Regions from separate parts of the Homo sapiens genome. Here regions 1, 2 and 4 are each linked to region 3. The links are contacts of gene promoters, found by promoter capture Hi-C in blood cells and fetal thymus (Javierre and others, 2016). All regions are on one chromosome and are shown on one strand. The core of a region is centred on a gene start or on the middle of the fragment in contact, and the rest is flanking DNA. Distances in the headings are between cores, read along the strand shown. Region 1 overlaps FNDC3B (fibronectin type III domain containing 3B). Region 2 overlaps LOC105374217 (a long non-coding RNA gene). Region 3 holds the start of TMEM212 (transmembrane protein 212). Region 4 overlaps FNDC3B (fibronectin type III domain containing 3B).

Evidence for each region. The method cuts DNA at HindIII sites, captures the fragments that hold promoters and counts their contacts. A CHiCAGO score of 5 or more calls a contact.
Region 1: a fragment that was not itself captured here is called in contact with the fragment with the promoter of TMEM212 in region 3 in 4 of 17 cell types (endothelial precursors, M2 macrophages, M0 macrophages and 1 more); the score reaches 7.2 in endothelial precursors.
Region 2: a contact is called between a fragment that was not itself captured here and the fragment with the promoter of TMEM212 in region 3, in 1 of 17 cell types (M0 macrophages). The highest score is 5.6, in M0 macrophages.
Region 4: a contact is called between a fragment that was not itself captured here and the fragment with the promoter of TMEM212 in region 3, in 1 of 17 cell types (M0 macrophages). The highest score is 6.2, in M0 macrophages.

What each region holds. Positions count from the first base shown.
Region 1 is chr3:172,064,723-172,068,779 of GRCh38, forward strand. All of the region lies in intron 1 of FNDC3B (fibronectin type III domain containing 3B), which reads left to right. Among named protein-coding and RNA genes, the nearest start is that of FNDC3B, 27 kb to the left of the region's middle. The HindIII fragment of the contact is 510 bases long and covers 1,363-1,872 here.
Region 2 is chr3:171,974,038-171,978,448 of GRCh38, forward strand. The region is part of intron 3 of LOC105374217 (a long non-coding RNA gene); the gene reads left to right. Among named protein-coding and RNA genes, the nearest start is that of FNDC3B, 63 kb to the right of the region's middle. The HindIII fragment of the contact is 4,757 bases long and covers 1-3,635 here.
Region 3 is chr3:171,841,440-171,845,915 of GRCh38, forward strand. TMEM212 (transmembrane protein 212) reads left to right here and starts at 1,910. Exons shown (of 5, transcript NM_001164436.2): 1 at 1,910-2,103. The coding sequence starts at 1,945. The HindIII fragment of the contact is 2,451 bases long and covers 492-2,942 here.
Region 4 is chr3:172,085,853-172,089,965 of GRCh38, forward strand. The region is part of intron 1 of FNDC3B (fibronectin type III domain containing 3B); the gene reads left to right. Among named protein-coding and RNA genes, the nearest start is that of FNDC3B, 48 kb to the left of the region's middle. The HindIII fragment of the contact is 1,128 bases long and covers 1,006-2,133 here.

The sequences.
Region 1 (4,057 bases), core at 368-2,867, 220 kb after region 3:
TGGCTCTTATTATCAGTGGCATATTACATGAAACTGGTTTTGGGCTCTTCAAATTTATATTTTTGGCAAAGGTGTTGGGAGATTTGATTTCATTCGTCATCACTGCAGTACCTGGCGCATAGTAGGCTCTCCATTTGGTGTGTTGGATGAATGAAGAAAGTGATTCTGCTAGTCAGTGGGGTTTAAAAACAAGTGTCCACCAACTTAATGGGTCCCCATTGATCCTGAGTTCACCTCTGTTGCCCTGTATATATGTGACCCCATGTTTATTGCAACCTTATGGGCATCTCAGGCACTGCAGAGAACAGCCTCTTAAAATTTCTGGTAGAGGCCTGGTGCGGTGGCTCACGCCTGTAATCCCAGCACTTTGGGAGTCTGAGGCGGACGGATCATGAGGTCAGGAGTTCGAGACCAGCCTGACCAACATGGTGAAACCCCATCTCTACTAAAAATATAAAAATTAGCCGGGCATGGTGGCATGCACCTGTAGTCCCAGCTACTCAGGAGTCTGAGGCAGGAGAATTGCTTGAACCTGGGAGGCGGAGGTTGCAGTGAGCTGAGATCGTGCCACTGCACTCCAGCCTGGGTGACAGAGCTAGACTCCGACTCAAAAGAAAAAAAATTTTTGGTAGACTCCTATGTGCCATTTCTGGAGAACTGAAATAGTAGTGGACATACATAGGATTCATTTTAGTGTAGATATGACTTTTTAGTGAAACTTGAAGTCCTACTTCCTGTGTGTGAAATAGGGTAATAGGATCACACCCGAAGAAATGCCGCCTTGTTCAAAAGTGACAGGATCGCTGTTCAGTTTGGAATATTGGAAAGTGGGCAGGTTTATTTGGAAGCACTTTGTTTTTACTATATGTGTAAAACTCCAGGGAGCATTGAATAGGATATGAGGTGCTCCCTTTGGCTGTGCATTAGCAACGTGGCAGTTACTGATCTGTCATTTACTTTGAAAAGGAATTACAAAGTTTTGGCCTCATGCCTGGAGTAGCTCCAGATGGTCAGAAAAGATTTTTGTACTGAAGTCAGAAAGTATATTGCAGTGATAGAATTGGGCTTGTCATGTTTATATTAGAACACTGGCTTCCCACTTTATTCCTCTGCAAAGTTTTTCTTTCTTTCTTTTTTCCCAGAGAGTGAGGGGAGGAAATTGTTGCTTTAGAGTTATGAGTCTAATATTTGGAATACTGTTGTTCTTGGTGATAATGATGTAGAGGTATGATTATGTGGTTAATGTAGTTACTTTGTCAACCTAAATACCCCTGATTCTTAGTATTTACAAAGGATGCATGAAGGCTTGGAATGTAGAGATACACCAAGACCATTGTAGCTGATGTAGAAATGCAGGTAAGAAGCTTCATTTGGGTTGCGTTTGCTTGTCTGATAACCTGGCTGTTAGCCCACAACTGTTATTTAGTAGCTTACCAAACTTCATCTGTTCTGTCTTCCCATGATTCTGTGGTTGCTAGGGGTAATGATGACGTTTGGGTGTTCAATATGGGTGGGAGGTGGGCCTGGGGAGATGAGCAGTGAGGCGATAATGATACTAACACCAAGTTTTGCCATTTTAGGCATTAGAGCATCTTAAATTCCACATATGATCTTGTGTACCTTCATATCAACCCTGGAAGGGGAACGATGTGATTCCTATTTTCCTGATGAGAAAACTGAGACTTTGGGAGGTAATATCTGCCCAAGGCAATATCTAGGTAACTCCCTTCTGCAGCCTGTTTACATATAGTTTTGGCGAAAATGACTACAATTTCCTGTCCTTTCAGGACAGAGGTGGCTACAGGCTTCAGGAAATAAAGCTCATTTTCCTCTGGGAAACTCAGGACTTGTCTGGGTTGAGCCATTTAGTAAAGCTTGGTCACAAGGCTCAGATTAAGACCTGGATCTACGTGCTGCTGTTCCCAGACTGCTTTCAGTTACTCTTGTGGTTACTGAGTAACTTGGGAGTTAGAAGAACATTAACAAAGTTTTGTGTTTTCGAAGAAAATGCTACACATGGAGAAGTGACACTAAGTTGCATACTTCAGAAAGGAATTTTTATCTGTTTTGAGATTCTGGTCTATACATTGAAAATGAACTAATTTTGATTATTATACTTTTAATTGGTTGCACGAGTGTGTGAACATAGGCAGCTCTTTTGAAGCACTTTTACTGAAAAGTGTAAAAATTTTTGTTGCTGTTGTTCAGTAGCAGACATATACAATACTCTCTTTTTGAGACATACACAATATTCTCTTATTGTGGATTTAGGGGTCTTGTACCAGATCACCCTTTTCTCAGATTGCAGCTCTTCCTCCTTGCTTTATGTAGAGTGGTTTCTAACTTGGTTCTTTCTCCTGTGCAGATATAAGACTTGGTCCGCAGTCTCCTACCCTCACCCAGTCTTCCATGAGCTATCAAAATCCTCCTCTAGGCTTTTATTATTTTGCTTCCTAATTTTGTCCTTTTAAATTTCCACTGTTTAGATATTATTCAGACAGCAGTGGTATTTTTCTGTATATAATGTGGCGCTGTAATTAGTTTGAGTTCTTTTGGGGTTGTGTCTTAAACAGCGAGAATGGCCTGATTGATGTGCTTTTTGAAGTCTTACTACCTTTTTGATGAGAAGGATGAAAGTGGTGTGGAGATGAGTTTGTCTGGCTTACTGTAAATCTGATCTGTGAGGCTTTTCTGCGTTCACTAAGGCACCAGAGTCGGACTCTGCTTTTTTTCTTGTTTGATGTTACTTTATTACACTTATGAATGAAATACTAATGCTGTTATTTTATAGAAGATCATAAAATAAAAGTACACTTTCTTAGTGTTTTATGTTTCTTTAAAAAGATAATTACCGTGAGTCATAGAGCTACAATTACATCAAGAGTTTCCTATACGAAGCAAAGTCTCTGGTGGGTTTTTGGTACAGTCTTTGCACCTGGATCAGTGGAGCAAAATGTCATCACACTTGAAAAAAAAATTACTTAACAGGCCCATTAAGAATCTTCAGAAGTTTGCATCTTGTTAGGGATTTGTGGTCCAAGAGTTAGTACTACAGAACAGGCTCTTTTGTAGACCTAGGGAAACCAGTTTGTTTCTCTGCCACTTAACCTGCAAGACTTATTATAGGTGTTTCCTTCTCCTGTCTGTTTTGAAGAGACTTCCTCTGGGAATTAATGGTAGAATACTTATGACTCCTGAGAGCAGAGAACGTTCAGGCCATCATCATCTTCTCCCTCTGGGCTGTACATGGCCTCCCTGTGTCTCTACTGCCTGTCATACCTCCCCACTCCTCCACCTCAGTCACAGGGCGACTGCCTTGCTTTCGGTCTACCTTTCCCAACTCTTCAGGCTCATCCTGGTGGATCCCATTCTGTAGCCCCTGCTGCTCTTTTCAGGGGATTCTATTTTGTCTTATACACTTTTGTCATTTAGTTACCCACCTATTCCCCCCAGTGGACTCCCATTCTGGGCTCCTGCAGAGGGCTTGTAAGTTCACCTTTATATCCCCAGGGTCAGAGCTGATGCTCTGCCGAGTGAATGGGGAAGCGCCAGAAAGAACAGAAGCTAATGATGGACTGGCTCGACCATGGCTCCCACTTTCAATACTCATCCCTCTGTTTCCTCAGACATTTTACTTGAATTAATTTTGTAGTTCTCCTTCTGAACTGCTGAGCAAGTATTTGGACACTTTGTGAGGAGCCTTTTTTTTTTTTTTTTTTGAGATGGGGTCTCACTCTGTCTCCCAGGCTGGAGTGCAGTGGCACAATCTCGTCTCACTGCAGCCTCCGCCACCCGGGTTCAAGCAATTCTCCTGCCTCAGCCTGCTGAGTGGCTGGGATCACAGGCTTAAGCCACCACGCTCTGGTAATTGTTTGTATTTTTGGAAGAGATGGGGTTCCACCATGTTGGCTAGGCTAGTCTCAAACTCCTGACGTCAGATGATCCACCTGCCTCGGCCTCCCAAAATGCTGGGATTACAGGCATGAGCCACCGTGCCCGGCCAGAGGAGCCCTCATTTATAGCAAGAATAAAAACATTTTGTCAGGAAATTTAATAA
Region 2 (4,411 bases), core at 7-2,506, 130 kb after region 3:
CTCATCTCAAGCTCAAATTCAACTATAATAATATTTATAAGTGTCACATGATACATATTAATAGCATCATTCATTTCTTCATTTAATAAGTATTTATTGAGGCTGGGTGCAGTGGTTCACACCTGTAATCCCAGCACTTTGAAAACCTGAGGCAGGCAGATCACCTGAGGTCAGGAGTTCTAGACCAGTTCTAAACCTCGTCTCTACTAAAAATACAAAAATTAGCCAGGCCTGGTGGCGAACACCTGTAATCACAGCTACTTGGGAGGCTGAGGCAGGAGAATTGCTTGAACCCAGGAGGCGGAGGTTGCAGTGAGCCGAGATTGTGCCACTGCACTCCAGCCTTGGCCACAGAGCCAGACTCTGTCACAGAATAAATAAATAAATAAATAAATAAGTCTTTATTGAGCTCCCAATATGCACCATGTACTGTTCCAGACTCTAAAGTTAAAACTACAAAGAAAACAGGGTCTCTTTCTGAAAGGTTCCTAATGTTTAAGGGTAGATGGACAATGAAAGCACAATCAGTGCTGTATCAGGGGCAAACGGGGTAACACAATGGAGGATGGGAGCAACATGTAACTATGTTCCATGAAGGTCATCAAAGACATTGTGGAAGAAGTGATTAATAGGAGTTAACTCAAAAAATGGGGGGGAAAAACAAAGCAAAACAGGAGAAAGCATGTGCAAAAGTGCAGAGGCAAGACATAGCAAGCAATCTTACAGAACTACAAATAACTCAGTGTAGTTGAAGGATAGGTGGGGGGTGGCACTGGCAAGACACAGGTGGGAGAGACCAGACTGTGAGAAAGCCTTACATCCTGAGGACAAGAGGGGATTGATGAAGAATTTTAAGCAGGGTGAACGGACGGGACATAATTAGAGATTCAGAAAGATCCCCTTGGATTTGATGTGAAAACTGAAAACCAAGAGACCTGTTTGGAGGCAGCAGTGGTGATCCGAAGAGAAGAAATGATCAAAGCTAGTGATGGTCCAAGTGGAGTTATGCCCTCGGAGGTGAGACCTCTCTTGGGGAGGTGGAATCTTCAGGACTTGGGTACCAATTGGACAAGTGTGTCAGGGAGGGAGAAGGGTCAGGAGATGCCCAGCAAAAGGAGCAGATTTTAGCTGGGAAATGGAGACAAGAACTTAATTGCAGTCCAATTGAGTAGAGGTGCCTGTGGGAAATCTAGATGTAAACATCCAAGCGATCCGAAACCTAAGTCTGAAGCTCAGGACAGCCTTCTGGGCCATTGGCACAAGTTCAGGGGTCATCAGCAATAAATCGTTGGAGCTACAAGAATGAACAAGATCACCAAGGGAGAGAATGTGTCCGGAGAATAGAAGAGGGTCAAACTCAGAGAGGTCACACTGAGTTAAATAGAAGGGCAAAGGAAAAGTTGTCGGAAAGGAGACTGAGAAGGAGCAGCCAGAGATGGAGGAGGGAAAGTTGGAGAATGTGGCTTAATAGAAGGCAAATGAAGAGAGCATTCCAAGCACAGAAGGAAGTGGTAAACAGCGTCAAATGTTGAGAGCTCAAGTCAGATAAGAAATGAGAACTGTTTATTAGATGTAGCAATAGGGAGGTGGCTTGGGACCAAATGAGAGCAGTTTCTGAGGAAAGGTGTGGGCAGAAGCAGATTGCTGTCAGTTGAGAGGAAAGGGACATGAGGAAGCCACAGAGAATGTGGACAGTTATTTCAAGAACTCGGGCTCTGAGGGGGAGGAGTGTGATAGGAGAAAAGTGTAGGGCAAGCGGGAGAAAAGAAGAGTTAGGAGGATTTTTTAAAAAGAAAGAGACTTGAGGATACTTAAAAATGGGAAGGATCGTGTGAAAATTTTGAGGTTGAAATGTAGAAGAGTGGGGATACATGCCGGAAGGAAGTACATGAGAAGGCCCAAGGTGATGAGAGCCTAAGTTTAGATGGAAGGGTTAGTCTTAGGGGAAGGTAAGTGCAGGTATAGGGACAGGTAAGATGGTGAAAGACATGGCAGGAAATTGTGTGTGTTCTCATCTGTGGCTTCTAATTTTTTGTGAAGGAGCAGGCAAAGTTATTTGAAGGTAAGGGGTGAGGTAGAAGTATGAAGGAAAGAAATAGATGGCTTCAGTTCAATGAGGAAAAGTCTCATAATCGATGCTGTGGAGATGGAAGGGAGAGAGCTGACCAAGAAAACAGGAGCATCAGGCAGTGCTGATGGCACAGGGCATGTGGGAGTTCATTTGTAGGATACCCTTCCAGAAAGTTCGGTGATTTTCTCCAGCTGTGCCTCCCAGCCCAGGAACAGAAAAAAATGTAGACAGCTGCGGGTGGAAGAGTTTTGCCTCCATGTTTTGATGGAAAGACAATTTGAGAAGACTAGAGGGGAAGCACCAAGTTCACGAGTGAGCCGGATGTCAAGGGAGTGGAGTAAAAGTGCAGACAGAAGTACAGGGAGGGAGATGATCACTTTCCAAAAGGAAAATGCCAAGGCTTAGGAGGAGAGGAGCAGTGGGAAAAGGAAATCCAGAACAGAGGAGTAAAATGGGAGAAAATGTTATGGTTGTCCCACGAGTCATACCTTGGCCAAAGACCAGGAAAGGCAACAAAATAGAAGGAATATAGAGTTCTCACCAAAATAAAGCCTAGTAGTCATCTTGTAGCTAGGAAAACTCCTGCCTCTGTGAAGAAGTAAACCAAGGCTTGCATGGATTGTCCTGTTAAGGGAATCTTGGCCCATTACATTGGTCCATGGGGATTCGCTGGTTCCTCTGACTCTCCTACTGGAAACCACAGCAGCCTCTAGGGACTGGGACACTCTCGTTTCTCTGAAAGGAGTCAGCCCATGTGTGGTTCAAGGATGCTTCACTCTCTTTACCCTATTTATAGAACCTTCTTATTTGAGAACTTTGTGAGGTAAGTAGTATTACCTCCCATTCACAAGCAAGGCTCAGAGAGTTTTATAACTTGCTCCCGGCTGTCAGCTACCAAAAGGGAGAAGTGAGACTAAGTGTACATTTTATGACTCCGAGTTCAGTGCTCTTTCAAACTATAGGCCTGTCTTATAGGACTGGAAATCCCTTAATTACTTCAAACCCTATGAGAAGATGCCAGTGTAATGGTTGTAATATTTTTGAAAATAATAAATTGATATGTTTACATTTATATTAACTTCCAAAGCCTAAGTCCTTCTGACTCAAATAGCAGATAGGCTGTCAGGTGGGGGTGAATACCACCCATCTGGGAAATGTTCACGGTCACTTATGATTGTCACAGGTCTGTGGAATGCTGCTGGCATTTAGTGGGTGAAGGTCAGGGACATTAAATCTCCAGCAATGCCTAGGGCAGTCCTACCCAACAAAGATTTGTCCTACCCTAACTTCAGTGCTACTCTCAGTGAGGAACACTGGTAGGACAGCATGGTAGATGGCCTCCAAGACCACGCTGATGATCCCCACCTCCTGGTATTCCACCCTGTGTAGTCTCTCCCACATTGTACTAGAGTCGTATAACCGGTGGAACATGGCAGAAGTGATGCTATGTCACTCCCAAGATTGCAGCTCCTGTCTTGGTCACTGCGTCTCTCTTGGATCACTAGTTCTGGGGGAAGCCAGGTCATGACCAGCCCTACAGAAAGGCCCAATGGTGAAGAACTGAAGCTTCCGGCCAACAGCCATGTGTATGACGTTGGAAACAAATCCTCCAGTCCCAGTCAAGTCTTCAGAGGCTGTAGCCCTGAGTGACAGCTTGACTAAAACCTCAGGAGAGACCTTGAGTCAGAACCACTCAGACAAGCTGGTCTCCGATTCCTGACCCTCAGAAACTGTGGAAGATTACAAATGTTTGTTGTCTTAAGTTACTAAGTTTTGTGGCAATTTGTTATGTAGCAATCGATAACTGAGATAAAGAAAATAGTCATGGCTAAGTTTAATGTCTGTCTATCTATCTATCTATCTATCTATCTATCTATCTATCTATCTATCTTTAATTCGTAGCAAGACTGTCTTAATAGCCAGCCACAATTGACTCAGTCCACAGAGCTCTAACATGAACCATGGCAGTAACTCAGGATATGATGTAACAGAAGTTCATGTCTACCTAGAGAGAAAGGGGAAGTACAAACTCTTTGAGGAGGAAATAAAAAGATAAGGGAAGTAGAAGAAAAGAAGCATTCAGATATTTGGGTCTTAGCTTCTGATTCCAGGGCCACTGTACTTGGTTGTGCAGTGTTTATTCAAGGAGTCAAGTGAGGGTGGGTATCCAAGCCTTGTTTCACTTACCAAGATTGGCAGCCCTTGTCCAAGGATATCTTTCTGAAAGATCTCACTTTCTAATTTTCATAAGGGAACTGTATTAGTTTCCTAAAGCTGCCATAACAAAGTACCACAAACTGGGTGGCTTAAAACAACAGAAATTTATTCTTGCACAGTTCC
Region 3 (4,476 bases), core at 660-3,159:
TCTTTCTTCACTCTCGACCCCTTCCCCCCCCATATCAGTGGAACAAACTAGCATCAACACTCATTGACGGTGGTGGATTCACATGGCTCTATACTTGTGCAGCTTCAGGGGGACAGGAGAGCCCAAATACAAAGGGGAAAGTTTAATGTATTAATCAACTAATTCAACAAATACTTATTACTATATGTATCTGCTCTGATGCAGACAAGGTTGTAGACGCTGGGAATATCTCATACATTTAAGGGATGTATAAGACTTGCAAGGTCTCTGCCCTTGTGAAATTTATCTAGTGGTGTTAGAAAAAAAAAATCAGAGAATATAGCCCACAGTGTTGAGAGGAGATAAGAAATAGCAGCTGTACCAGAAAGCATGAGTTGGTTTCCTGGATTCTGTATATCCAGGAATGCAACTGCTTCAAAATCTGGGTCAAACTGTGGAATGGCTATTAAAGACAGAAAGGCAGAAAGAAAAAAAGCAGAGAATCAGAGAGAAGCTTCTCTTTCCACCACATATGGGAGGGTCCTTTGGGAGTTTTTACCAAATTGTTCAGGAAGAGTTAAACATGATGTTTTTAAGGTGATGAATTTAAAAAAAAACCACAATAAGTGCACCTTTGTCCCACGATGGAAGGACCCCAAAGGTGGAACATCCCAATTTAACAAGAGTAACTTTCTGAACATCTTCGTTATGCTAAACTCTGGGCTAGGCATTTATGGTTTTAGCTCATTTAATCCTCTCAACCAAATCCATTAAAGATAAACACTAACTTTTATTCCCATTTCGCATACGAATAAATAGACCTAGAGAAGTTAAGTAACTTGCCCTTACTCAAGGACACAAACCTGGTAGAGAGTGGAACCAGAATCGGATCACAGCTCCATCTGACTCAAAATCGATGTCCTAAACCACTTCATTTGCATTCATAAAATTATTTTTCATCCTTTTATTTCAGTAAAAAGGAATAATGTATTAATGTTAAATAGGAAAATTATTCAGATGGCTTCAGAAACTGACCTGTGTTTTTAAGATATTTTTTTGAACAGACATCCACATATATCCAATCAGTCAAAATCAAATAACACCATTTTCTCAAATGCATGAAAAAGTAAGAGATGACTTGTAACTGCCTAAATGTACCTAAGTTCAATATCTCAAATTAGAATTATGATTCAAGAATGAATGGGGATCAGCATTTTATTCAACTGATGAATTGCTCCTCAAAGTTTATTTTATTTTATAACTGCATACATTTCCATCATCACACTTTAATTGAAAATTAAATTAATAGTAAAATAAGGTGAAACTGGTTTAGTGAAAACAATGCAAAACTCCATAATAAAGTTCATGCCCATTTGGGAATGAATCCATATCAAAAATCTTTATCAAAAATAATTGTAGTGGAATTAAACTTTGAAAGGAGGTGAAGGTCTTGCTTTGGGTTGAAATCATTTAAATTAAATATAATGAAAAGTGACCAGGGTGCTTATTTTTACTTTGTTTTGTGGGAAATTGTGCTGGGAATGTGGATCTATTGTACACAAAGGATGTTGGCTTTATGCTGGAACCACTAGGCAGGTTGAGTTGAGAAACAATTAGCTCAGTCAGCAAGCCTTTGAATCTGATTAAGCCAGGAAGTGGTCACTCCCCAGGACAGGGCAGAATGAAGGGAATCAAGGCAGCAATCCAAAGCAAGGGATAATTTTTTTCTCTCTTTCTCTTAAATAAATTGTTATTAGAATTTATTGTGTCAAATTTATGCCAAGGACTATTTGAGTACATTTCATCTTTGGTAAAACAAATAGAATCTTGTTTCCAAGTAGATCAACAGTTCGTATGTGTCGTGGCTACTGTCTCTAAGAAACTTCTATTTACTGAGGCCTGTCATACGCTCATGTTTTGGTAACAAAACATCTTTGAGACCAAGGCCTCAAGCCACCAAGGAAAATGAAGGGCCTCTACCAGGCTGCTGGCCGGATTCTTGTTACTCTGGGGATCCTCAGTGTATGCTCTGGAGTTATTGCTTTCTTTCCTGTCTTTTCTTACAAGCCTTGGTTCACAGGATGGAGTGTTCGAATTGCTTGTCCTATCTGGAATGGAGCTTTGGTATGAAAATAGTTTATTAAATATATTGAGAAAATAAAAGAAGGTGGGAGGGAAAGGGAAAACAGAAGAACATATCCTTTTAAATTGTTCTAACAATACAAAGAAGTCAAAATTCCACAAAAAATCAGAATCCGCCTTGGAACATTGATTTCTATTAATTGCATTTTAAGTATAAAAATGATCTTAATATTGTTTTATCATGTATACATGTATATTATGTATTTTTAATGACATGCTGCTCAAGAAATTCTTAAAAAGTTATTTTATTTTAATCCACTTAACTTGATATGCTAAGAAATTAGAATCTTTTGAAATGTGAATTTTGAATTTAGAAAAAAACATAAACCTTGAAAAGTAATTTTAAAATACAGAACAAAGTAAAATAATTTTCAAACTAATGCTTTCATTGCAAACACTAAGATGTACATGGCCCCAAAATTTACAAACCCCAAATATTTGTTTTTCCACCTTTCTCTTGCAAGCAACTGTTTGAACTGAAAATAACTCAATAATTTTCAATTATTTGAAAATAATTCAAATAATTCAATAATTCAAGATGGACTTCACAATTCACTAGGAAAGTACATGTGCCAAGTACAGCGTACGACACTAAGTAGTACTCCGTGTGCGCTCATTGAATCATTGCACAGATAAACGATTGGCCTGGTCCCTTAGCTCTCCAACCAAAAAAAAATGGGCACATCTAGTCTTGGGAGTAACTGGCTTCCATGCTGGTATGATTTAAGAGAAGTTACAGAGACCCACCTGTCCAACAAATCCTTCTCTCATTGATTCCTGTGACGCCTGACACTACTGGAGACTGGAGAATTCAATATTGAAGCTTTTTGATCTTAAGGAATCTTCTATTAAAATGTAGCCACTTGGCCGGGCATGGTGGCTCACGCTTGTAATCCCAGCACTTTGGGAAGCCAAGGGGAGCGGATCACGAGGTCAGGAGTTCGAGACCAGCCTGACCAACATGGCGAAACCCCGTCACTACTAAAAATACAAAAATTAGCTAGGCGTGGTGGCATGCACCTGTAATCCCAGCTACTCAGGAGACTGAGGCAGGAGAATCACATGAACCTGGGAGGCAGAGTTTGCAGTGAGCCGAGATCATACCACTGCACTCCAGCCTGGGTGACAGAGCAAGACTCCATCTCAAAACAAACAAACAAAATGTAGCCACTGTTGTGTGAGATAGTATCTTAAATCTTTAAAAAGTTAAAACTTTAACTGAGATACCACCTAAAAACTAGACCTCAGGAAATATAAATTTTAATCTACTTATTAGATAAATATTTATGAATAGCCCCCTATGTCGTTGAGTTACAATGAAGGATCCAACAAGGTCTTCATCTTAAAGGAACTTGGTCTAGTGGGGTTTGATGAATGTGTGCAGATAGACGGAAGCCAGTGGGATTATGGGAGAGTCGATGGAATGAGGAAACCACAGGGTTATCTTTCTCTTTCTCAGTTTTTTTTTCTTTTTCAATACATTCTTTTGCATCTATCACCCCAATCTTGATCTTCCCTTCTTTTCTCCAACACCTACCTGAAACCACAATTCATTCAAAGAAATATTTGTTTAAGTTCTACTGGAATGCAGAGATGGCAGTTACACTTATTCAAGTGGCTTCCAAACTTTTTTTTGGTGACTCAGAGTCAGAAAAATATTTTAGGTGAGGACCCAGAATGTACATAAATACATCTACATTCTTCTCTCTAGATAAATAGATATCTACATCTATTATGTATATACATGTATAGTAGATGTTTATATATCTATAAAACAAAAGTTGCTCAAAATAGTACTTACCCTCTATGTGAAACATATTCTGATATTTTCTATTTCATTTAATTTTTTTAAAAATTCTGATTTCACAAAGTTTAACAATATCATGATTAGAGTTCAACCCTACATTCTTTTGTTACAGCTGTTTGCCTATCCTTTCAGACTGCAACATAATACATTAAACAAATATTGGTGATTTTGATTAAGATTACAGATGATTGAATGTATTGTTCTAGGCCAAACATCTATTTTTACCAGTTAGGCCCGGAGAAATGATATGATGTGTCTCCAGCACATAGTTAATTGGTAACTGTTTGATTTCAGAGGTGGCAGCATCAGGAAATGGAGTCAGAGATAAAGGATTTAGAGAAGTGGACCTGTTTTCAAGTCCTGACTTTGATGTTCTTGGTAGGAGGTCAAAAGCAGGACCCTCAGCCAGCCAGTTCCTCATTCCCTTTATCTGTAAAATGGGGAATTTTACAGATAAAAAGAGCCCACGTGTAAAACTGTCCAACCCTAAGATGCACAGTGAGAAGGAACACAATTTAAACAAAGATTGTATAATAAAGAGCTTTGCC
Region 4 (4,113 bases), core at 320-2,819, 240 kb after region 3:
GATGTTAAAAGTGCATGGCCACATTGCTTGTTTCTCAGATACAGTATTAGAAGGGCTCTATAGGTGTATACATAGTCTCTATTCTAGAGAGCTTTTATTTTTCTGTTTGTAAAGGTGGCAAAAATTGCAAAAGATTTAAAAAATATTACTTGTAAAAAGTGATATTTCATCCAGGAGAAATGAATGCTTGAGATTTGTTGTCTAAGACCTAAACAATTAAGCTCTGGGCCAGGCATGGTGGTTCACACCTGTATTCCCAGCACTTTAGGAGACTGAGGTAGGAGGATCACTTGAGGCCAGAAGTTTGAGACTGGCCTGGGCAACATAAAGAGATGACGTGTCTACAATAAATTAAAAATTAGCTGGGTATGGTGGCACACACCTGTAGTCCCAGCTACTTGGGAGGCTAAGGTAGGAGGTTTGCTTGAGCTCAGGAGGTAGAGGCTGTAGTGAGCCATGATCCTGCCACTGCACTTCAGCCTGGATGACAGAGCAAGACCTGATCTTTAAAAAAAAAAAAGCTCTGCTTCCCTTTTAATATAAAGAACAAATGGCATATGCTTCCAAGGGTACATTGGAAAATTGGCAATTTCAAGCCATGTTTAATGTGGAAATGTGACTTGTGTTTTGTTATTATATGGATAAATTAGATTGTACAATTAGTCCTTTAGACTCATGAATTGCCTATTTGATTATGTGACTCTTTATGTAAAAATTGGCCTAAGTTCTTATTTAAAGGAACTATGTAAGTGAAATGCTAATAACATTTCTTATTTTCATATAATCTTTATAAAATTGGGATTTCACATAATCTCATTAGGAGAATTGAAAAGAATTAAGTTGTTAGATCAGAGTTATCCAAAAGGCATTCTCTAGTGAACATTAGATCTTAAAAAGTTTGTGTGTTCAAAAACGTTCGGCCTTGGGGAGATTCTCAGTGTATATTAAAAGTTCTTTGAAGTGTAGTGTTAAAGAACTTCTAGCTCTTCAACTCAGAGTTTCTCAAGCTTGATGGAAGTTTTCTACAGAAGATGTATTAGCATGTAGCAGAGTATTTTTCCTGTGTCACATACCTTAGAAATTTTCACCTGGATAGATTTATTAAAGAACAGACACCACAGGTGGTGAGTTCCTGGCTTCACATGGTTTCTTGCTTTTCCTCACTTTTACCAGAGTTTATAGTTCCATTTCTTCCAAGCCACTCCCGGAGATGGAAGGAAGTGGCATGCTCAAAACAGTGTAGAATCCAAACGGAATGAGAAGGATAATTTTGAGTCATCTTTCTTTTGTTTAGAAAATAAATATACCTTTTTTGAAAAGAATTGATTTCCTATTTTTAGGTAATGTACTTCTAGTTAAGGCGCATAACTTACCTTGCCTATATTATAAACTATCAGCTTGACCGAAGCCATCTTTTTCTTCTGCTGTTGGTCTTTTAGAGACTTGCTGTTATTCACATAGATAATACTTGTTTTCTCTGTGAGCCGTACTACTTGCCAGGTTTGGGACTTCTCACATAGAGGCTGATGTAATAGGGAAAGACAGTGGGATAATTAACATTTTGGAATTTGATAAGTAAGAATGAGTGCATATGTGTGTGGGCGTTAAAAGAGCTTATAACTTGGTTAGATTTCCTTTGTAAACTTAGGTGGAAAATATGCTTAGAAATTTGAAGTGATTTGAGAAGCAAGAGACCTTATCCTGCCATTAATCAGTGGTGTGACCTCTGAAAAATAAGGGATGGAATAGATAATCTCAGAGGTGCTGCTGATTAAAAAAAATTTTTTTTTCAAATTTCATTGCAAATTTTAAATCCTGATGTTGCATTTTTAAAACTTGTATAGGTTGTAACATGCTGGAAATGAAATCAAACCCTCACTGGGGAAAAATTAATGCTGATGTACAAATATGATTTGGAATCTTTGGTATTTGCCAGGGGCTATAAGAATTCAATGCTTCTCCATTTGTGATCTTTCTGTAGCACGTGAAGGCTGATTGAGAATTTGAGAGCCCTAGCTCTAGATCTCCAAATAATTGGAGATCTCTAAATAGTTAGAAATATGCAAGAGAAGATAGTCCACATTAGCAAGAGATGAGAATGTAGTATATACCACTTTGGTTCATGTATCTTGAAGCTTTTATCATTCGTCACCTCAGCCATTCGTTTTTTTCAGAGTAAGTCATATGCTTAGAACCAGGAAATTGCCTGCCACATCTTGTTCCTGGAAAAGCTGACAGCCTAAAAATGCTTATCATTCAAGGTGTGACCTAAATGAGTGTTGTACAGCTATTGTAATTTTTCTATAAAGTTATGTGGCTAAACAAGGTACTTTCTAGGGAAAATTTCTTCCAAGTAGGCCTTTATTTACAACTTGAATCCTAAATTAGCAAAACCGCTGTACTGGTACCACAGAAGTTCATATTAGAAGGGAATTTGCAGGTAGTCTAGTCCAACCTTTTTATGTTGCAAATAAATGTAGACTGAGAAACCTAACTCCTGCAGCTAGCATACATAACAGAACTGAAACCCAAATCTCCAGATGGCCACCACGGTCATCTTTCCTCAGTATCATGTGGGTTTCAGTCAGTGTCTCTCGTGCTAGAATGAATCCCATGTAAAGTATGTTTTAAATTAAATGTAATGCCCATACATCAAATCACACAAGTCTGTACCTTCGTAATTATATTTTGAAATGCAATTGATTTGCTGAATATAAATGTTTGAAATGTTTTGTACATAGCTATTACATTTCTTTAAACTGTATTTTATAAGATGTATATTTCAATGACAATACTTATCCTACAAAAGAGAATGGTTTCATAAATTGATTTAAAAGTAGGTGCCAGTGTTACACTTATAAATAAAAAGATAAATTTTACATAGTGAAATCTAAAAAAGAAATGCAATTGATCATTTAAAAACCACATTTTAAATAAATTCTACAAAAGGTAGCCATTATGATTTTATGATTACTTGTGTTGACAGTATTCTCCTGTGGAATGTGTGATGCTTAAAATGATTAGCTTGTACAAAAGCTATAACAATAGTAATATTTTTACTCATTTATTCAACTGTAAGATTTTAAAATTTACAGACAATAGCCAAATAATATTCAGGGTTCTGTTTTAAGTGATAAATTAGCTTTCTACGGGACAAAAAAGGCATTGACAAGAGCACTGACTTGTCATGGTATTGAATTTCACAGAATTAGTTTTGGATAAATGGGATTTTCAATGTCCTGTGAGCTCTCAAAATTCATAGTGAGCAACTAATACCCATAGGACAAAGTAAAATTTAGTTCACAAATTATTAATTATTTAATTTGCAAAGTAAAAGTAAAAATTAGTTCAGCACAAATTATTATTACTTTACTAATTCTTGTTTCCAAATTAAATATTTGAATCAAGAGTGTAGGAAAACATCTTTTAAAATGTGTGTTATAGGGGTACAGTATAAAACTAGGGGCAGGATATTTTACCATAGGATTTTCTTAAACCCTAGAAAAAAACAGTAAGAATTCATTAGGGATGAGGAAATTTCCTTAGTGAATGTTGGAAACAGGATGCAATGTGGCACAGCTGTCCGCAGAGGTTTGGAGGATTTCCCTGGGAAGATCAGTACTGAGTCATCAGTTGATCGAAGGTAGGGGACGGCACAACACATACCATGCACAAATCGAATGTAGGGTGTATTAAGCCCTCAGCAGTATGAAGATTTTAAATTATTGGGTGGGTACAAAAGTAATTATGATTTTTGCCATTAATATAATTTCAGTCATAGCACTATCTTAATATCTCTGACAGAAGACTCTTGGAACATTAAAAAAATCAAGATTCTAATAAGGCTGTCTTGTGAAGATCAAGGCATGGAGGTTTGAAAATCTCAGTGTCGATTCATTATCTAAAAATCTCTTGAATAGCTCAATTACAAAGTCAGCCATAAGTGGAAAACTATGTATCTAGGGTCTGCACCGTGCCGGCTGCATAAGATACCGAGTAAATGTTTGAACAACTGAGGGAATGAATTCCCAGGTCGGCCATCTCAACTTTTTACAACGTTAATGACAAATATGATTTCGACATATATAATTCATTTGTATCAGTGTTTTGGGT